Linked DNA regions of Homo sapiens: region 1 is linked to region 2. Evidence: promoter capture Hi-C in human tissues and cell types (Jung and others, 2019). All regions are on one chromosome and are shown on one strand. The core of a region is centred on a gene start or on the middle of the fragment in contact, and the rest is flanking DNA. Distances in the headings are between cores, read along the strand shown. Region 1 overlaps NR5A2 (nuclear receptor subfamily 5 group A member 2). Region 2 holds the start of NR5A2 (nuclear receptor subfamily 5 group A member 2).

Evidence for each region. Contacts are between HindIII fragments. The study calls those that stand out against the background at their distance.
Region 1: a fragment that was not itself captured here is called in contact with the fragment with the promoter of NR5A2 in region 2 in 1 of the 25 tissues and cell types used here (small bowel).

The regions. Positions count from the first base shown.
Region 1 is chr1:200,155,604-200,160,325 of GRCh38, reverse strand. All of the region lies in intron 7 of NR5A2 (nuclear receptor subfamily 5 group A member 2), which reads right to left. Among named protein-coding and RNA genes, the nearest start is that of NR5A2, 130 kb to the right of the region's middle. The HindIII fragment of the contact is 3,052 bases long and covers 1,747-4,722 here.
Region 2 is chr1:200,024,411-200,029,260 of GRCh38, reverse strand. NR5A2 (nuclear receptor subfamily 5 group A member 2) reads right to left here and starts at 1,551. Exons shown (of 8, transcript NM_205860.3): 1 at 1,350-1,551. The coding sequence starts at 1,413. The HindIII fragment of the contact is 6,457 bases long and covers 1-4,263 here.

The sequences.
Region 1 (4,722 bases), core at 2,023-4,522, 130 kb before region 2:
GAAACACTTCTCCATGTCAGAGCATTAGACTAGAAGACAAAAGATGTAGTCTTCTAGATATTTCTACTCACACAATCAATACTCCTTCATAATTCAGCATTTTAAAGAAATCCTCTTCGTGTAAACTATTCATGATACTCCATGGACACAGTGCAGTTGGGATTGCTTGTAGCAGCTTCCTGTTTCTAGGCTTTGCTCCCTGCAGAAGGCAGGCTAGAGCCCATTGTTTTCTATCCCCTAGGTCTTAGAGGGTAGCAAGCGATACCAGCTCACGCAGAAAAGGGACATGGATGACAGTGAGGAGGGTGCCATGGGGAAAATAAGTTTACATGAAACTAAAGAGCAGCAGAACACTCTTAAAAAAATCTTCTCAGACCAGGCATGGTGGCTTATGCCTCTAATCCCAGCACTTTGGGAGGCTGAGGCGGGAGGATTACCTGAGGTCAGGAGTTCGAGACCAGCTTGGGCAACATGGTGAAACCCCGTCTTTACTAAAAATACAAAAATTAGCCGGGTGCTGGTGGCTCGCGCCTGTAATTCCAGCTACTTGGAAGGCTAGGGCATGAGAATCACTTAAACCTGGGAGGTGGAGGTTGCAGTGAGCCGAGATGGCACCATTGCACTCCAGCCTAGAGGACAGAGCGAGACTCTGTCTCAAAAATAATAATAATAATAATAATAATAAATAATTTAAAAAATCTTTTCAAAATGAAAATGTTGAACGAAAGCATTCAACAATCTCTACAAAATAACCAGTTTATTTGGTATAATGTATATTACTCAGCAGTTGACTGGGCAGGAAACTTCATAAAACGTTTGCTTGACCTTAGTGCTCAAGCACGAAGGCAAAGTTAGGTGAGGTCTCTACTGTCCCGTTATGCTCTCGCCCAACCCCAGTATCCCTGGGTGATGTGGCCCTGGGTGACATCTTTGCAATGAGTTGGTTTCATACCTCCTGTGGAGGGGTAGGATTAGATGTGAATGAAGGGAAACATCTGGAGAACCTCTGATTCCCTGGGCCTCAATTCTCATCTTGTTAATTTAAACAGAAATTGGAAACCAAGATATGACTATAATATATTTGTTGTTTGAAAGAACAAGTATTCATGATTTTAAAAGAATCAAATACATGGCCAGACACAGTAAGTGGCTCACACCCGTAATCCTAGCACTTTGGGAAGCTGAGGCAGGAGGATTGCTTCAGGCCAGGAGTTGGAGACCAGTCTGATATAGTGAGATCCCATTTTGACAAAAAATTTAAAAATTAAAAAAAAAAATAGCTGGGTGTGGTGGCATGCAGCTTCTCAGGAGTCTGAGGCGGGGGGATTGCTTAAGCCCAGGAGTTTGAGGTTGCAATGAACTGTGATCGGGCCATTCTAGCCTGGGTGACAGAGACCCTGTCCCTATTAGGAAAAAAAAAAAAAGAATCAAACATATTAAGGTCAGGTCAATACCAGAATGCAGAATAGGATAGGGAATTTTGCTTTCCTAACAGCAAGAAATACACTATATGGCAGCACCATGATGTTCTACAGTGTTGGCTGATGGTTCACTAGGTAAGACTCAGCAACTTGAACTCTATGCTACTTCGGAAATTGTATTTGGGTTTATTTTGGATAAGAAGTTTAAAGAATGCCTTTCTGTGGAGGTTGCAGAGAGCTGAGATCACGCCACTGCACTCCAGCCTGGGTGACATAGTGAGACTTTGTCTCAAAAAAGAATGCCTTCCTGTTTTAGCCTTTGAGTATGTAACTGATGAAAAATAAATTCTATCTAAAGTCAGCAACAGAATCAGAAATTCAAGGAATGAAGAGTATTATTAATGTATCACCAATTTTAACATCCAATTTTTAAATGTTGAAGATGTTTTAGAGGTATTTTATAAAATGCAGGCTAATTGTGAATTGTAATCTCTGAGAATAATACTTTATATTTATGTCATTCTTTGAATTTTTATTAAACCCCTTGCATCTACTTTATCTCACTCCCGCCAACACCTTTGGCAGGTCTGGTACTATCCTTTCTGAGACAGACACACAAAATAGATTAATTGGATTGGAAAAAAACTAGGTATTTGAATATTATAGCTGATGCTCCCAACTCCTTTTTAATTGTGCCCCACTGTGTTAACATGTTACTTTAATTAAGCATTAGACTGAGGTTACTAAAATTGCATTTCTTTAAGTACATATAAATTGAGCTTTTTGTTGCCAAGTTGAAATGTCCTGAATTAGTGAAGTTTATTGTACTTGGTACATTCTATTTGTGCTAAAAGTAATACATCACAATCAGTAAAATTCTTGCAATTTTATGCCCATATGAGAACTGTTACTATCTACATTCATTCTAAATATCCAATATTTTATGAGTTTGTAGAGTTAAATTAAAGCTACTCTTTAAGAGCTAGATATACTTGTTACTTATTATTACATCATTTCCCTTAGCTATTAAAATTCTGCTCAGTAAGATCAGAGGTTGAAATGAAGGGGGAAAAATCATGCAGTGGATCAACACTGATTCTGAATTATTTGCTTGAAAAATGAAAAGAGAGGGTCTCTGGAGTTGAGAACTATAAGGGAAGGGAAACTAGTTGCCTAACAAGATCATTAAAGCCAAATACTTATCCATTTTTGGACAAAACAAATTAATAATTCATTCAATTGCTCAGGGATATGTATTTGTATATGAAAGACAGAAAATCCATATTTCCAATTTGTTTTGTATTTGTGTAACCATGTGGCAGAGAAAATAACAAGAAAGATTATTCTAAGAACTTTTGGAGCTTGAAACATTTGCAAAAGAAGCTATCCTATTTTTTTTTCAGTGTAATGACAGATTTTGCTAAGACAGTGATAATAGTAAGATATCTTATTATCTGATCATATTGGTTTCGTAAGTGCTATGCTCAATTCTAAGGTTTGCATGGAAGGAAACTAAGACTATGTGGTGACCATTCCCTTTCACACCCAGAAATCATTAATTCAAGTGGGGAAAATTGTTTGGTTTTTGCAGATTAATTATAGTCAACTCCTGATTATTTAGCAGAATTATTGATACTTGCATTGAAGTGATTTTAAATCCGTGAACACTGCACTGGCCATAAGACATTGAAATTAGTAAATTGCTCTAAGTTTCAGTTTCCTAATCTTTTAAATGTGTTTTAATAGGAATTACCACAAGGTAGGACAGTGCCTGGCTTATAAAGTATCATCTGTTTCATCTTTCTGCAATGATGACTTAATTGAACAAGAAATATCTCTTCCACCTTTGAAGTCCACCCAGTGCTATTATAAGGAAAGGTCAGATATGATTTATCCCAAGCCTAATGTATCAGTCAGCATATACAGAGAGCGGCTCTGTTAAGATGTCGGCAATATAGATGCTCCAACTTACGATGGGGTTATGTCTCAATAAGCCCATCGTAAGTTGAAAATATTATCACAAATTCATTTACTACACCTAACCTTCTGAACATCATAGCTTAGCCTAGCCTGCCTTAAATGTGCTCAGAATACTTACATTAGCCCACAGTTGGACAAAATCATCTAACCAAAAACTTATTTTATAATAAAGTGTTGAGTATCTCATGTAATTTATTGAATACTGTACTGAAACTAAAAAACAGAATGGGCCAGGTGCGGTGGCTCACACCTGTAATCCCAGCACTTTGGGAGGCCGAGGCGGGTGGATCACGAGGTCAGGAGTTCAAGACCAGCCTGGTCAAGATGGTGAAACACCCTCTCTACTAAAAATACAAAAATTAGCCGGGTGTGGTGGGGGGGCACCTGTAATCCCAGCTACTTGGGAGGCTGAGGCAGGAGAATTGCTTGAACCCGGGAGGCAGAAGTTGCAGTGAGCAGAGATCACGCCACTGCACTCCAGCCTGGGTGACAGAGTGAGACTCCGTCTCAGAAAAACCAGAATGGTTGTATGGGTACTTGAAGTATGGTTTCTACTGGATGTGGATTGCTTTGCAGCATCGTGAAGTCAAAAAGTTGTTTCAGTAGTCATAATATTCTGAGTTGCTCTGACCTCTCCCCTGAGGGAGGATGCAGGTTTGCTGACGTTCCCACAACTGTGGGTGCCACTCCTATGCCCCCTACAGAAGCCCTCTTTGGAGTTTACCCTATAGAACTATTACTGTCTTATAGGGATTTTCAAAACTGAAGTGTTAAGGATGTAAAACAAAACCCTAGACTCTTCACATGACCCCCATGGTGGCTCAGTAAATATACCCACAGCAAGTTCAGAGGCAGCCCACGACCACTCATAGTTCTCTAAGTTTCAGTTGGTAATAAAGCTTTCATCTTGGGAAGTAGTGGATTTAAGTAACTGTTGAAAATTTGATTTTTGGGCCAGGCGCGGTGGCTCACCTCTGTAATCCCAGCACTTGGGGAGACTAAGCGGGTGGATCACTTGAGGTCAGGAGTTCGAGACCAGCCTGGCCAACATGGCGGAACCCCGTCTCTACTAAAAATACAAAAATTAGCTGGGCATGGTGGCTGGCACCTGCAATCCCAGCTACTTGGGAGGCTGAGGCAGGAGAATCGCTTGAACCCAAAAGGTGGAGGTTGCAGTGAGCCAAGATCGCACCATTGCACTCCAGCCTGGGTGACAGAGTGAGACTGTCCAAAAAAAAAAAAAATTTTTTTATTATTATCTGTGGATTCAGCATTGTCATTAATCCTCCATTAACAGAAGGAAATCAGGAATAGCTTTGTA
Region 2 (4,850 bases), core at 302-2,801:
GCCCGCGCGGGCGCGAGCCCCCGAGCGCGCGTCCCCCGTGCGCGCGCAGTCCGCGTCTCCGGCCCGAGCGCGCTCTAGCTGCGGCCCCGGACGCGGAACCGGAGCTGCGCGGAGCTGCCGGGAAGGACTCCTTGCCTGCGCACCGCGGCGGTTCTGCCCGACGAAAAAGATGCGAAATGGTTGTGTGCTGCTCTCTCATCTTTCTTGTGCCTGTATTTTCTGTGTTATCTGCAGAACAATTGATTGTGTGTTACACCCTGCTTACCTTCCCCATGTTTTCTTTTTCGTAAGTATAGAACATTTTTGGTAAACATTTCCTCAAGTGATATACTTTAGGGTGTAGTTGGCCCATAAAAAAAGCAATCTGTGACTCCACTGCATTCTGTGGAGTCAGCTGACTAGGAAGGAAAAAAGAGGAAAAACTCAAGCCTTGATTTTCTTTCTTGTTATAATGGAGCTGAGACTCAGAGAGCTCATGACAGGCCCCTGCAAATTCGGAGGGAAATTCCAGTCTGAAAGCCTAGGCAAATGCTGCCAGAAAAGGCACAGGTCCTTCAAAAACTGGGGAAAGGCAGAAGGGCCTGACTTCCAACAGACAAATAATTACAGATCACTGGGAATCACTTCCCTTCAGTCCTTTACTTTTAGAATTAATTGAATGTAGTCTTGCTATAAAATTCATAAGTTTGTAACTCTATTTTTTAAATGAATAGTAGCTTTATTTACTTATTTCTGTTTGTAAAAACAAAATATACTAATTGTTGCGAGAAACAGTAGCTCTTCAAATCCTTTACTAATGATGGTCTAGTTTTTTTGGTTTTTTTTTTTTTTTTTTGGAGGTGGGGGCATGACTTTCATTCCCCAGGAAAATAAAATGAAAATTTTTTACGGTATAAGCAGAGAATAAGACACCATACTTTTGTGTGGGTTGAAAAGTAACAAATACTTGACAGCTATCTGTTAAAGTTTGATCAATGATCACTCAATATGATTAACTTGTTTCAAATTGTTCAAATTTTAGCTTATTATTTCTGATTAAAAATTATCAGAAAATATTAAAGTTGAAATTGATAAAGTATAAATTATATTTTCTGGCTGATTAGGGTATTAGAATGACACCAGTAAACACTAGATATAATGAATAATATTCATATGTTGAAATATCCATTTGCTTTTTTTGAACTGCAAGAAAGATAAATGTGTGATATATATACATAGGCTTATTGTGTGCTTTTAATAAACATAATAGGAAAAGCCATGACTTAAAATGCAAAATCCATCAACAAGATTAAATTATATGTATGTAGTAGCAGAATAAATAGATGATCAATAGAGAAACTCCTACTTACCAATAGGTGTAAGTCCGTGCTTTAAAGACTCTTGTAAATCCCCAGTATCTGAATTAGAAGACATTCTTAGTGAAATTATAGGCAGTTCTTTGGCTTAAAGCAGAAATCATTGAGCAAAAGAAAAGTGCAGCTTGTCAAATTTCGTGGCCTTGGGAAGGACACATCAGACTACAGTAACCCTTAGTGAAAGTTAAGAAAAAGCAAAGGAAAAAAAAAAATCCAGAATTCATAAAGTTACAAGCAAGTCTTTCCCTGGACTCTGTACTTTTTCCAACATTAGTGACCTGCTGTAAACCATGTATCCAGTTTCATGATGGTTTCTAATCAGAAGAATGGAAACTTTTGATAGGCTTTGACTCATCACATGACTCTATGCAGGTTGATAAGAGGACCCTGTTATAAAGTGACAGCAAAAGAGATAAGAATTCTTGCCAGATAATGGCAAAGAAATGATTAACTCAGAAGTGGAGAGGTGCTATGCAGCACAGAGAGTGGAAAGTTGTAAAACTGAGGGGTCAGAAGATCAGACTTAGTGGATAAAAACTGCAAACCAGCTAACTAACTTAGGCTAACTAAACTTTGGCTTGTGACATACCCCTTGATGTCATCACCTCTTTGCATAGAGGAGGACAGACATAGCTCTTCTGACCTCTGTAAATACATTTTAGATGATAACATTGGCAGACATTAATTCTTTAAGTGATGACTACAAATGTGATCGACACTCTGAAATACTACAGGTAGCATTTCCAAGCTTATGGTTATTTATTTATTCATGTTGTGGTCAACCAACTTTTTTATCGGGCCTATTCATTAGATGAGGAGTTAACCTTAGCTTGTTTCTACATTGGTCATATGGCTAAAACACAATCTATCTCTTTATCCCCAAAAGGTAAAACTTATGCTTTGAGATTAATGCTGGCAAAATGGTGAATATGTAACACATTTTTCATAGTTATAAAGTTATTATTCTTAGGCTGGGCATGGTGGCTCACACCTGTAATCCCAGCACTTTGGGAAGCCAAGGCAGGCGGATCACCTGAGGTCAGGAGTTCGAGACCAGCCTGGCCAACATGGTGAAACCTCCATCTCTACTAAAAATGCAAAAATTAGCTGGGTGTGATGGTGCACTCCTGTAATCCCAGCTACTTGGGAGGCTGAGGCGGGAGAATTGCTTGAACCTGGGAGGCAGAGGTTGCAATGAGACGCTGTTGCACTTCTCTCTGCAACCCTGGAAGAACACAATCCAAGATCATGCCACCGCACTCCAGCCTGGGCAACAGAGTGAGACTCTGTCTTCAAAAACAACAATAACAACAAAATAACAATTTTTTTTTTTTGAGATGGGTTCTCGCTCTGTTGCCCAGGCTGGAGTGCAGTGGCACGATCTCGGCTCACTGCAGCTTCTGTCTCCCGGGTTCAAGCAATTCTCCCGCCTCAGCCTCCCCAGTAGCTGGGATTACAGGGGCACACCACCATGCCCGGCTAATTTTTGCATTTTTAGTCAAGACGGGGTTTCACCGTGTTGGCCAGGCTGGTCTCAAACTTGTGACCTCAAATGATCTACCCGGCCTCCCAAAGTGCTGGAATTATAGGCGTGAGCCACCGCACCTGGCCAAAATCCTCAATTTTAATATTGACACTCCTTTTAAATTAAGTAAATGCAGGTTGTGTGTATGGGTACAGATAATTTTTAACTCAATATATAAACATTTGTTGTAATAAAACTTCATATATCAGATGATAGATTTAGCAGTCTTTGTCTAAAGATTCACATTACAGAATTTATGGTCTATTAATTTATTTAGAGATGGGATCTCACTCTGTCACCCAGGCTGGAATGGAGTGGCACAGTCATAGCTCACTGCAACCTCAGACTCATGGACTTAAGCAATCCTCCTGCCTCAGCCTCCTGAGTAACTAGGACTACAGATGTGTACCACCACACCCAGCTAATTTTTTAAATGTTTTGTAGAGACAGTGTGTTGCTGTATTGCCCAGGTTGGTCTCCTGGGTTCAAGCAGTCCTCCTGCCTCAGCCTCCCCAAGTGCTCAGATTACAGGTGTGAGCTACCTGTAAACCCAGGCCAGTCCTTTTTTTTTTTTTTTTTTTAATGACAGAGTCTTGCTCCATTGCCCAGGCTGGACTGCAGTGGTACAATCTTGGCTCACTGCAACCTCCGCCTCCCAGGTTCAAGCAATCCTCCTGCCTCAGCCCCCCTAGTAGCTGGGATTACAGGTACGTGCCACCATGCCCGGCTAATTTTTGTATTTTTAGTAGAGATGGGGTTTTGCCATGTTGGCCAGGCTGGTCTCGAACTCCTGACCTCAGGTGATTCACCCGCCTCGGCCTCCCAAAGTGCTGGGATTACAGGCATGAGCCACCACACCAGGCCCTTTTTTTTTTCTCTTTTGTTTTTTAATCAGATTACTGTTAGTTATTTCCCCTCTTGCCTCACTTCATGTCAGTTGAAATGTTGGAATACAGCATCTGAAAGTGCTGTCCACTGCCTTTCAGCTGTGCTGCTGGCTCTGAACTTTGCCCAAGGTGAACTTGCCTTTATCGGGTTGGGGTGGCTTGGGGTCTGGGTGACCCCTGAAGTCAGAATCAGAAGTGGCCACATTCGTGACTTGTGGTCTTCTGAGTATAAGAAATGTCCCCATTTGGATATCCTCACAGCCTCATGAAAGTAAGATTTTATTGAGTAGACCTGCTCATGGAAGGTGGGTAGTTTCCAAGTAGCACTGGTACACACCAAGTGAAATAACTGGTAATCCTGGCTGTCAGCGGAGCCAGGTCAACATGCTGGTATACGTGCTGTTTTTCCTTTGAGCTTTAAGTTCTTATGTACACATAACCAATCCAACCTACTTTTCATTAACACCATGTTAGGTATTATTTTCTTAGATTGATATTTTTCTTTTAAAGAAAAAAAAATCATAGGGTGGATTTTAAAATATTATTATTGAAACCAATGATTTCTTCTTTGATTTTAGATGGAAACCCAGAAGGGACCTTCCCCATCTTCTCTCTCTCTCTCTTTCTCTCTCTCTCTCTCTTTTTCTCCCTCTCCTTTCCTCTCCTCTCCTCTCCCCTCCCCTCCTCCCCTCGCCCCTCCCCTCCCTTCCCCCTCTCCTTCCTTCCTTCCTTCCTTCCTTCCTTCCTTTCCTTCTTTCCTTCTTTCTCTTTTCTTTCTTCTTTCTTTCTTGACAAGGTCTCACTCTGTCACCCAGGCTGGAGTGCAGTGGCATGATCTCGGTTCACTGCAACCTCCACCTCCCGGGTTCAAGTGATTCTTCTATGTCAGCCTCCCAAGTAGCTGGGATTACGGGCACCCACCACCACGCCCAGCTAATTTTTGTATTTTTAGTAAAGATGGGGTTTCACCATGTTGGCCAGGATGGTCTCAAACTCCTGACCTCAGGTGATCCACCCACCTCGACCTCCCAGAGTGCTGGGATTACAGGTGTGAGCCATGAGGCCCAGCTAATTTTTGTATTT